Regions from separate parts of the Homo sapiens genome. Here region 2 is linked to region 1. Evidence: promoter capture Hi-C in human tissues and cell types (Jung and others, 2019). All regions are on one chromosome and are shown on one strand. The core of a region is centred on a gene start or on the middle of the fragment in contact, and the rest is flanking DNA. Distances in the headings are between cores, read along the strand shown.

Region 1 (6,028 bases), core at 666-3,165:
TTGTCTCTGCCATAATATGCATTTTAAAGATTAAAGACTAAGAGAATACTTTTAGCAAGGAAAATTATCTGAAACATGCAGTAACCAGCATCCAGAAAATAAAACCACTTTTAATTATCCTATATTTCAAAATAATATGAAATACACAAACAAAGGGGTTGCTCAGGCAAAAGTACAATAAACTGAAATGTGATTTTAATTAACTCACAACCTTTTTACACTTCATCTTGCTTCATTTGTGTGTGTGTCTTGATGGAAGGCAATGAAGAGCACTATCCACTAGTCCAGGATTTAAGGTAAGAGAAGTTAGTTTCAGGAAAGAACGCAACTCCAGGGGCACAGAAACCACCTGAATGACGACACTAGTACCAGCAGAGGGTGCTGGCGTGGCACAAAATTAAGAATTTTCAAGAGGAAGAGGTCTTAGATTGAAAGACAGCAGGTGTGAGGAAAAATGTAATAACTCTATCCACTTGGAGGTCTGAATTCTCCGCTTGCAGATCTGTCTGGGGTTCAGTGATTTCCTGCAATGGCCACATGAATTTTAGGTATCTCCTGAAGCAGAAAAGTGTGACATTTGCTTCTGCGTTTGAACAGGACAGGGAGAAGCCGTGCAGTTTGCCTTCTGTTTCCACTGGAGGACTTTTAGCAATCCCTGGCGTCTGTGACACCTACAGCAGAAGTTCACATGGAGTCCTTACTTTAATTTTTTTAAAAAACAAAACAAGCTATTTTTGTGTTTACTAAAAAAAAAATTGGCCCAGACTGTCAATCCAGGGGAATCACATTTTCTTTTTTCATTTGGCCACCTTAAAAAGAAGGTAACAGGTACCTGGGAACCCACAGGTAATAGAGATTGTGAAAGGTCAGGTGGAGGAGACAAGGCTGGATGCGCTTTATTCAGCGGAGTGCAGCCTCCTTGGCGGTCGCAGCACCAGCCAGCCCAGCCAGGACGTGTAGAAGAGCCCGCCCCCCCCATCCCCTCCGAAGTAGGTCACAGCGAATGCTCCTTTTATGCAGAGTCCCCTGTTGCGATTCCTGCCGCTAGCAGCGCCTCTGCCAACCTGGGCTTTTGAACTGTTCTTTCGGGCGTTCTGGGCTGGGAGTCAATTGACCCACTGGATTCGAATCCAGACTTTCTGGGCCTCAGTTTCCCCCTAGGTTCAACGACAGGGGTGGACAGCCTTACACCAAGGCCTCTTCCCGGCCTCACACGGCGCGGCCAGACGTTCCTTAGTGGTGCGGCAAGGCCCCGCGCTCTGGAAAGGGCCGGCGAGAATGAGACAGCTGGGTCAGCACCAAGGACAAGGGCCCCGGGTCCGCCTGGCGGAGGCGAGGTCACTTCCAGGCGAACCCGGCTGCTGAGCAAGCGTCGGGCGCAGGGTTCCGTGGCCGGGCGGGAGGGCTTGGGGTGCCGGGAGAAGCGCTGTGGGAAGGGGAGCAGTCCCGGGGGATGAGGCAAGGCCGGGCCCCGCGGCGGTCTCGCAGATTCTGCGCCAAGAGGCCAAAGGTGGCTGCTGCGAGCGCGCCGCCCCTCCCTTGAGGCGCCCTGCCGCCTCCCGCGCCCTGCCCTGCCCGGGCCTTGGGGCGCACTCGGTGCTCCCGGCTCTGGAAGCCCCTCAAAGCCCCGCTTCCCTCACTCGTGGACCTCTCCAGCCCCTTTCCTGCCCCAGCGTCGCCTGGCTCCCTGTACCAGGGCTGCTTCTGGACACACCCGTGACTTCGACCCACTCCTGGGGGATGGGGTCCCGCATCGTCTTCCTGCAACCCCCATCCCAACTCCCTGCGGGGAAAGAGGCCCCACTCCCCGATGCTCCAGAGCCGGGGCCGCCAGGCGCCCCGCCCCCCGCTCGCCCCGCCCCGCCCCGCCCCGCAGGCCCCGCCCGCCGTTGCCCGGGGAACCGCGGATCCCGCAGCTGCAGGAGGCGCCCGGCCCGGCGGAGCAGCCCTAGCCGCCACCGTCGCTCTCGCAGCTCTCGTCGCCACTGCCACCGCCGCCGCCGTCACTGCGTCCTGGCTCCGGCTCCCGCGCCCTCCCGGCCGGCCATGCAGCCCCGCCGCGCCCAGGCGCCCGGTGCGCAGCTGCTGCCCGCGCTGGCCCTGCTGCTGCTGCTGCTCGGAGCGGGGCCCCGAGGCAGCTCCCTGGCCAACCCGGTGCCCGCCGCGCCCCTGTCTGCGCCCGGGCCGTGCGCCGCGCAGCCCTGCCGGAATGGGGGTGTGTGCACCTCGCGCCCTGAGCCGGACCCGCAGCACCCGGCCCCCGCCGGCGAGCCTGGCTACAGCTGCACCTGCCCCGCCGGGATCTCCGGCGCCAACTGCCAGGTGAGTGGAAGCGGCGGGCGCGGTGCGGGGCGCTGGTCCGGGACCAGCAGCCTCTTCCCGCCGGCCCTGCTGCTGCTGCCCGACAATGGGCACGCCTGACACAGGCTTTCCCACTTTGGGAAGAAGATGGATCCAGTCTCTTGGCCCGCGTGGACGCGGACCCCCGGGCCGACCCTGATTCCCTTACCCGCCCTGGTTCCCGGGCGGGGCCAGCCGGGCTCTCGGGGTGTGCCGCTCCGGGGCTCGGCACTTCTCGCGCGGGGCTCTAGACGCTCCGGTTGGCCACTGAGTGGCGCGCCCCTCCAGGCCGGGCCGAGCCAAGAACCACTTGAGCGGTGCCCGCCTTGGCAGCGCGGAGGAGCCGGCTCCGAGCGTCCCCGGCGAGGTGTTCAATGTCCAGGTGGTCCACGCTCCACGTCCGGCTGGACCCTGTGTGTGTAAAGGGTGTGCGGTGTGGGAGGCAGGTGATGGTGGGCCCCGTGCCAGGTGGTGGGGCACTTTCTCCTTCTCTTCCTACGCCCTTGAGGGCTGTGACAAAGCAGCCAGAGGACGAGGAGGGCAGCTGCCTCCCCTCGGCCTGCGACCAGCCCTCTCTAAGCTTAGGAGCAGTGTTGGAACAGTCGGAGGCATTCGAGGGGGCATTGTACGTGGCGCTGGCAGGGCCGCCCTTCCTGCCGGACGCTCCACGGGGCGCACGCTTGGGGCTGGCAGCCGGGGCGTGAGCAGGGCACCGGGAAGCCGCCAGAAAGCGTGGGGGCGGTGCGAGGGATGGGACGATGGGATGTAGCCAGCAGCCGCCCGTGAATTTGGGGTTTTCAGGAGAATTTGGCAGAAAATAATATCTGGGGCTTTTACAAGTCCGTTAAAGCTCTGTGAAACCTATTAACATCAACATTTCCAGTAGGCAATTTGGTAGGACTGTGTGTACGGGTAGAAAATCCCCAAACCTGTATTGCAGGGTAGGGCAAATAATGAAGTTATCTGAAATGATTACATTAAACCACATGAATATGGACGATATTTGGGATCAGATACTATCTTCCTTACATTTAGGGTGGAGGAGTTTGTTTCATATAAATTTGATAACAATGATTGGAGAGTTACTTTGAGAATGCTCAAATAGGTTCTTTCAATGGGGAAAAAGGCTGCCCTTTCATTATGACAGGTTTTACATTTTTTAGAGGTAAATGGGATTGAGAAACTTGACCTTGACAGCCAGATTTTTTTGCATTTATCTAGAATCTTTTTATTTCATTTAATAGCAAATTAGCAAACTGAATCTATCTTTTCAACACTGTGCTCTTCCTCTTTGTTTACTGGTTACAATAAGCTTTAGTTACTTGAAGGGAGGTGATGAGGAGGAGGAAGAATTTGTGTGATGTGAGCCTCAGGAGTAGATTTGGGACATGATAGCTTCTTGGGGGAAATGCCTGTTGGAGCCATTCTAACCATTAGAACAAAATCTTGCTTTTGCAAAAGTCAAAATAACTGCAAATCAAAAACCAAGGAATGCACTCACGCTAATTTTCCCTGTGGATTGATGATTTATATGACTTTTCCTGAAGAAATGAATTGTCTGAGTGTGTCCATCAAACTGCTGTTATATTCACACGTCTGAATTTTATCCTTCAAAGAAATAGTTGATTTGGACCTAGGGTTTAGTGGGAATGGATGGGAGAAGGTAGGTTAGAGTGCCCATCGATTTACATGAGAAGAAAGACTCACTGGGAATTTAACACAACTCTGAGATGGTTTTTGGTGACTCTAAAAACAGATATAAGACATCTTCAAGAAAAAGAGCTCTTTAGTGCCACCTAAAGATGACTAACAGCGAAACATAAATATTTTGATTTGTCCTAAGTAGTGACTTGATGTATAATATAATTCATTCCGAAGAGTCAGGAACTAATACATAACATTGCAGGACCAACTGGATCAAAACAGATTCAGATTTCTTTTGTAGCTCCCATTGGAGGTAGGCTTAGCTGTGTGAACACCATCCACCTGAGCAGAAGCAATACTGCATGCCCTGGTGTGTGAGTTGGAGAGAGCGGTGAAGTTACTGTAATCCTCATAGGAAAGCTTAGTGAACTTGGAACTTGATTGGACTTGGTTACCCAGAAAAACTTACTGAGATGATTCAGGGCCTTACAATCCATAAAAATGGATTCCTGATGATTTTAATTTAATCGTTCATGATCTCGCAGTAAGACTTGAGACTCATTTTTCATGGGAACAGCAAAGAACACAAAAGACAATTTCAGAAGAGAAGTTAAACCTGGGGTGGTGGGGAGGGGAGGGGAGAGAGGGAGAGAGAAACTACACATACTCAATTACAGATAAGGAAATTGGATCTTAGCCACTGCAGACTATGTGGTTGCTGAAATAGAACCTTGTGCTCACTGGATAAATTGGAAATGGAATTTTACCTGGATGTAAAGAGGATCTTTTAACAGAGCGTCACTCCTCCTTCTCCAAAGACAATAGTGTTAGCAATGGTAACATTAGAACCTAACCTTGAAGTTTCTTTCTGTGTGTGGGGAAATTTTGAGAAAATCATAAACTACGAATTAGGATTAAAATGGCTGTCTTTAGGCTTTTTTAAAAAAGGATGTCTTTAGCTTTTCTGTGGTTGGCTGATTGAGTTTGCGTAAGTCAATGGGGTCTAGGACATGCTTCTTTTGTCACCTGAGTCATGGAAACTCCTAGGATTTGGGAATTGTAGGTCGTGTGGGTTTGAAGTCAAGCTGAAGTTAAAACTACTGGGTCTTATTTCCTCATCTTCAACGATGGGATCTATGGGACCTACCTCATGAAGATAGTGATTCCATTCCTTGATGTCTGATTGCTGCTGACAGCTTTAAAGCCTCACCTCTCCCCTTCCTCTTTTCCTCCACATCAAAACAAGCTGATAAGAAAGCCCAGGGGTTCCCTCCTTTGGTGCTGGTGGGAGGTTCAAACCATGCAAACTCCTGCCCTGTGCTACTCCAGCCCCAACCCCAAAATGCAGCAAAACCCACAAGCCAGTCTCCTTTCCCTGTTCTCAGAAGCCATTTAAACCCATTTGGGAGCTGCCTGCTCTCCCCAGAGAGCCCCATTATGTCAGCAGTAAACCTTTTTGTATCCTGTGTGTGTGTGTGTGTGTGTGTGTGTGTGTGTGTGTGCGCGTGTATGCATGCCATTTTCAGTCTCAGGGTCCAAACCAAATTTTGAGTGGGTGTCCATCCTGTCTCTGTGGGATGTTCACACTAAGGTTCTGGGAAGGATTAAATTAATTAAGTGCTGTAAATCACTGAGCACCTGTGACATTTCTTTCTTTGTAAACTTTCTGCACATATTTCAAATGCTCATTACCTTAACTAGATCGAGCTAATCATCATCTCTTTTAGTCAAATGCAGAAAATGAAGCTCATTTTGATTGAGTGACTAATCCAAGGTCACATTTTGATACTGCCCTGAAAGTCCTCTAACACATGCAAACATCTTAAATCATGAGAAATTCAGCTGATTTTAAAACTGTATATGAAAATCTAATTTGTAGATATGTAATGATGATGATGATGGTAGCTTACCCTCCTTTTAAGCACTTGCCACGTGCCTGCACTGTTCCAAGGACTTTGCAGACATAACTTGCTGATCCTTGCAATGTCCTATGAGCTGGGTGCTGTCCCTACTCCCATTTTATAGATGAAGTACAGAAAAGTGA
Region 2 (5,645 bases), core at 2,402-4,901, 450 kb after region 1:
GGGAATCCTGTGCGCTCTGGAGCATGTGACCCTTGGCAGGTGGGCGCTCTCGCTTGCCTTCCCATAGAGATTGCTCCTCACTAGAAATGTCTCCCCCTTATTTTGTGAAATGTGCACGTGTGCATTTTGGCGTGAGCCTGGTTTATTGCAGTTGGTGTTTGCAATGCGTTTATTTTATTTCAAGGTGTCATGTTGAAAGAACCTGTTTTTAGGCTTTTGAAAGCTCATATAAACAGGGCTTATCACCAATAAGACCGAGTCACTGTTGGAAGGTCCTTACCAACAGGGGGCTCAACTTCATGCTGCCCAAATTTCGATGAGTCTCTTTTGAAAGTACATACATCTCAAGCCTTGAGATTAGAGAAGTGAGACAAATGCGGAAAAATTTTTTTATATCCGTGGCTTCTTCCCAAAGAGTATTGCTTGACTCTCCTTGAAAACACATAATTTATATGTTTTTACTTTTGCCTCTGAGAGAGCTGTTGAGGATGAGATGGTGAGTGAGCTGCTTATCATATTTTATTTACATTCCTTGTGGTTATCTTTGTCACAATCTCTGTTTGCTGTCTGGGGTTTTTTCCTTTTCTTTTCCTTTCACCGTGATATAGAAACATGCCTGTCCGATTCCTCAGTGAGAAGCCACTTTGCCACTCCCAGGCTCTGTGGCCACAGAGATAGCAGTGGATATCATGCTGGATAGGAAACTTGAGAATGAGTTCTGCTCTTTAATGATGTCTGAGCTCCATGTGCCTTTCACAAATCTTTATAAACCTTCTCATTCGACCTCATTAATTTTTTTCTCATTTATCTTTAATACAAACATTCTAATTTAGATGAGCCAGAGTGAAGAAAATTCGTCAAGGAAACATTCCCAGAACTTCCTAATAGGACTAAGGAGTCAATTTATTTTATCAATACCTAGAATCAAAAGAGGGGATGGAAGAAAATAACCAGACCCTTTCTTGATGATATAGTTCATATTCGATGAAGCTGGTTTGAGAAGTCTGTGTCCCAGGGGAGTGTGATAGATCTTTGCGTAGAACAGTCACCCTCTAAATAATGGACTTTTGAGTGTAGCAACTGGCTCCGTTGCTCAGGAAATGGCATCTTTGATCAGGTTTGATTATCATTATTGTTACCCACACTTCTGTGTCCCCACAAAATGATGCTGATATTTTCTGATTTGAGGTTTAGCTGTTTGACCCAAATCCAGCACAGGCAAAGGGACCTATTGCCCTGAGCAGAGCTGCGCTGGGTAATTTCTCATTCAGTCACACAAACCGAGGCAAGTTCATCTGCTCCCTTGAATGTTAAAACTTCTATTGCATCCCACTCGAGCCCTCGCTGGGAGCTTCTGCCATTAAAAATATAATAGGATCAAAAGGGATGTGAAGATTTAATTTACCACCCCAACTTTTTACAGTGAATAAATATGAATTCTTCTCTTTTCACCTTCCCGTCTGCACAGCAGACTTTTTTTTTTTCTTGGAGGTATTGAGGAGTGTTATACATTTTTAAAGAAGCAGATTTGAAACAGACTCCTTTCAGAAAAGTAAAGGAGACTTTTCTGAACAAATAAAAACCCTACTGGTTTTTATGAAATAGAGATGAGATTACCTCTGGCCTTGAAATTTTAAAATTTGTATGAGTTTCTGGATTGACTTGATGATTGTACTGGGTGGATCCCTCAGAAGTAACAAACCCATCCATGCAAGACTGTGTCCCATCCATAGGAACAAGTATTTTCTCAGAGCAAATGTCTTCACTGAGCTACCAGATGCATTTTCTGGAGGCCTTGATAGGAGGAGAAAGATGAATCAAGACTGACTTAGAAACGAAGGAGGTCAACACATCCTTAAAGGTCTTTGGTGTAGTTATTACTAGGATAGAGTGGAATGTGATAGGCGTATGAGTTCTAGCAGATTCTAATTGTGAAGTTTACATGTAACCATCTTCTCATGAGGCATTCTATAAAGGTTCCAATATAATCATCTAGCTGTCTTCACTGAGATTACCATTTCTCCATGGCAGATTCAGAAAAAACAGCTTTTTATTCACAAAGCTGGATTTGAGTTTTGCAGCCTGGGCAATTTTTTCTGTTCCATCCATTACTTCCTTTTTCATCCTCGTTGTGGCCAATGTCTGTGTACTAGCACTTCCACAAGAGGGAGAAACACAGTGAAGAGTAGGGAGGACCCCAGATCCTGAAAAAGCTTTCTTTTGGTTTCTTCTGAAACTTTTGGTTGATGAAGTGGTTGAAGTTTCCAGCTAAATACTATTTGGGGATTTTAGGAGCCAAAGTCCTCCTCTGAGGATTATCTCACCCTTTCTCTGCCTTGTCCTATCTGGTAGATGTTGTCTTGACTTGGAGTGTGGATCGTTCTAGATTTTTCTTCTCTATGATGATGCCACTTTCACTTTTCCCCTGAGAAGTGAGACTGGAGAACCCTCTAAAACGTCAACTGGAGACCATTAGCCCTGGCCCATCAGGCAGGGTGAAAACCGGCAAATCTGATACTTTTCCAGGCTGACCAAATTGACAAAAGGAGCAAGGATTAAGAATGGGAAGATACTAGTAACCTGCTTTTGTGGTGCAGGCACTGTGTGTGGCACTGTGCCGAGGAGCTTTATTTTAACTATCTGGCTCATTTGCATCCTGTAACCACTTTTATCCGCATTTTAGAGAGAAACTGAAGGCCAGAGAGTCGAAGTGATTTGGCCAGCGTTGAGCAGCTAGAAATGAACTGAGCTGGAGTTTGAACCAGACAGTTTGGTTCCAATCCTTACTTCTTAAGCACTTCACCATAGTGCAGAAGGATAAGACAGGCACAGTGCAATGTACATGTTGGTGCTGTTGTTATTAATAAATACAGTTAGAGCAATGACTGTTTTGTGGGCTCAGAGAGGCTGCTGTCCTATTTCTTGCTGAAGCAGTGGGTTGACCAAAGGCTACTCTGTTTTTGGTGGCTCAAATCTTTGGTGGCACATAAGCTGCTGTCTCCTATTGAAGTTAAAATTCACAAGTGCCATTGAAGAGCTTTTCAGCTGAAGCACATAGCATTTATCCAAACTAGAGACCTTGAAAGCCGGTGATTAGGGTGGATTGTGTACACATTCATTCCAAGTTTAGACAAAAAAAAAATGGGGAGAAGGAGGGAGGAGGTTGGAGATTTTCAGAGCGGTTGCTTAGAAAAAAGCAACAGCTATTATTACAGAGGCACAGGTTTCTCACTAAACCCATTCTAGATTTTGTTGTTGTTTTCATCAATTGTAGTTGAGTAAGCACAAAACATCGGGCCCTATTGTTCATAAAGAAAACTAGGAGTTGTCATTAATCCGGGGCCTTAGTCTCCCTCAGGAATAAAATGCTATCTTACATCATTGAGTCTTTCTCCAAGTTTGTCAGCAAATCTCTTTCAAGCGATTTGCAAAATCCTAGCCTGGGAACAAACTCTGTGCCCCTTGCTTAACCATGGCCTAATGGCTGTTTCGTGTTGACTGTACTGAGTTATCTTGGAGTGTTAGGCAACTTTTGCATTTTGTTTGATGTTCCAGATTAGGTCCCTCCCATACCAATACCCCTCCACACTGACCCCATTCTACCATGAAAATTAGCCTTGGAGGAGACTCTGGGAGAATCAGCCTTACAGCTTCAAGGGTACTGGAGATCAGGCTGCCTTCTACAAGGTATTTTATTCTGTGAATAGCAGCAGTTCAGGGACTTGTTAGTGGTCAGGAAATAAAACTAGTCCAGAACACTCAATGACTGCAGTGTGCTTCTTTCAGCCCTGTGGACACAAATTTAAACAGAGGCTTTATATAAGTAGAGCAAGAAGAAATAGTTGAGTCGTTTGTCCAAAGACCTCCTTAAAGTCTAGTGGAATTAGTCTACTGTCATTTTGTGTTCACTTAAAAAAAAAGTTGTGATCCCTATTTAGCTGCTAATCAGTGATAAAGCATCAGTGTATTCACCAGGTCCAACCCTTGAGGCCAAAGACTGCAAAAGGAAGGTGTCAGGGAAAAGACACAGACTTGTTTTGTGACTGGCATATTTCAATGCTTCCAGCATCTTGACATGCTCTTCCACTTAATGCTGATGCCACGTGGATCAATAATCTGGCTGAGGTCTTCTTTCCCATGCCTGATGGCCCAGGATTCCTCTGCCCTCTTATGTTTCAACCGAGTTCTTACTTTGATAAGGGAGGCTCCAGTAATGGCCTTCTTAGCCAGGTTGTTTCCTGAATAAGAAATCATTTGGGTAAAAAAAAAATAACGAAAAAAAAGCATATCTGTCTCTTTATAAATAATTTTGACACAATCGCTTACTAGCAATGTTTCAGTTTTGTAACTTCTCTGAGCTTTGCTTTCCCTATCTGTAAAATAGAGAGATGTGCTTTGCAGAGATTTTGGTATGTAGCGTATAGTAGGTGCTCAATAAACAGAAGCACTTCTTAATGTTGTTATGGTTGGTCACTGTAGGAATGGAGTGTTGAGTTTAGATCTAAGCTCCTGTCTTCTCTTCTGTCCATCTTTCTTGTCCATCTACTACGTCCCAAGTACTATGCTGGGTGTGGGTGAAGGGTGAGAAGAAGGGCATAGTTGTAAACTTAGAGGACTCACGGTCCTATTCCTTATTGTTCAAAGTTGGACTTAATATATATTTCCTAGTATGATTGTAACTTTCAGTGTTTCTGTTCATATGAAGAAGATCCCTAGCTAGCTCAGCTTTATAAGCCAGAACCAGTATGTTAATGACCTGCTCACTGTCCACTTGTCTCTGTCTCCTCACTTGGGGAAGCTCCTTTTATTCTCAATGTATAGGAAAGTGCGACGCACAGAATGCAATTGTCTTTACAGTTGGGGGTGAAGATGATGGAGGTTCATATATGATAGTGGGTGTTAGGGTATGGGTGAGCTGGGCTGGGACTTGGGGGCCACATACCTTGTGGCCCTTGATCACTTGGGTCCCTGTTTTAGAGAGGCCTGGGTGTGACTATCCTGAAAATGGTCTGAGTTGACATACCTCTTATATCTCCTTTAGTTTCTGCCAGGCGGTGGTCTCCAGGTCAGGATGAAGTGTTAGTTCTCTCATGTTATAAATGTAGTAAGGGAAGTCGTGCTGAAGTTGACTATTGGGAAATTTCATGTATACTACTGAGTTGAGAGTCCACTCCTCCAAAAGAAATTTTAGATAAGTGAAGCCGTTCTAGAAGCCATCAAATGCATGTTTGCTCCCAACTATCCACAGCTAGAAGGTTATATAGCGTGGCAAGTATTCTCAAACAGGGCACAGAGAAGGGGTGCTGTGGTCAGGGTCCCAGAAGCAACATTTCCTTCCACTCCAGCAGTGCTGCTAGCAGACTCTCATTTAATTGGGTTTTATTGGTGATTTTTACTTTTCCAGCCATACTCATTTCCAAGTATGGAGAAAATCAAGAAATGTCAGCTACCATTCATTGCAGGCTTATTTAGTAGTAGTGTCAGTAATAATAACAATAGCAGCCACCTTTTTCTTAGTATTTACTGTGTTCCCAGCACTGACCTGTCCTCCCAACAGCCTTTGGCAGTAGAGCTGGGGTTCATAGCCAGCAGACTGGTTGTAGGGTCTGCACTCCTAAGCACTGTGCCTCTTGTGTCATGGAGCA

What was found. Contacts are between HindIII fragments. The study calls those that stand out against the background at their distance.
Region 2: a fragment that was not itself captured here is called in contact with the fragment with the promoter of DNER in region 1 in 1 of the 25 tissues and cell types used here (dorsolateral prefrontal cortex).

What each region holds. Positions count from the first base shown.
Region 1 is chr2:229,710,442-229,716,469 of GRCh38, reverse strand. DNER (delta/notch like EGF repeat containing) reads left to right here and starts at 1,915. Exons shown (of 13, transcript NM_139072.4): 1 at 1,915-2,322. The coding sequence starts at 2,047. RefSeq lists enhancers at 459-1,232, 1,233-2,007 and silencers at 1,845-1,904, 1,975-2,084. The HindIII fragment of the contact is 6,115 bases long and covers 1-3,286 here.
Region 2 is chr2:229,263,768-229,269,412 of GRCh38, reverse strand. The region is part of intron 1 of PID1 (phosphotyrosine interaction domain containing 1); the gene reads left to right. Among named protein-coding and RNA genes, the nearest start is that of PID1, 4.7 kb to the left of the region's middle. The HindIII fragment of the contact is 6,246 bases long and covers 529-5,645 here.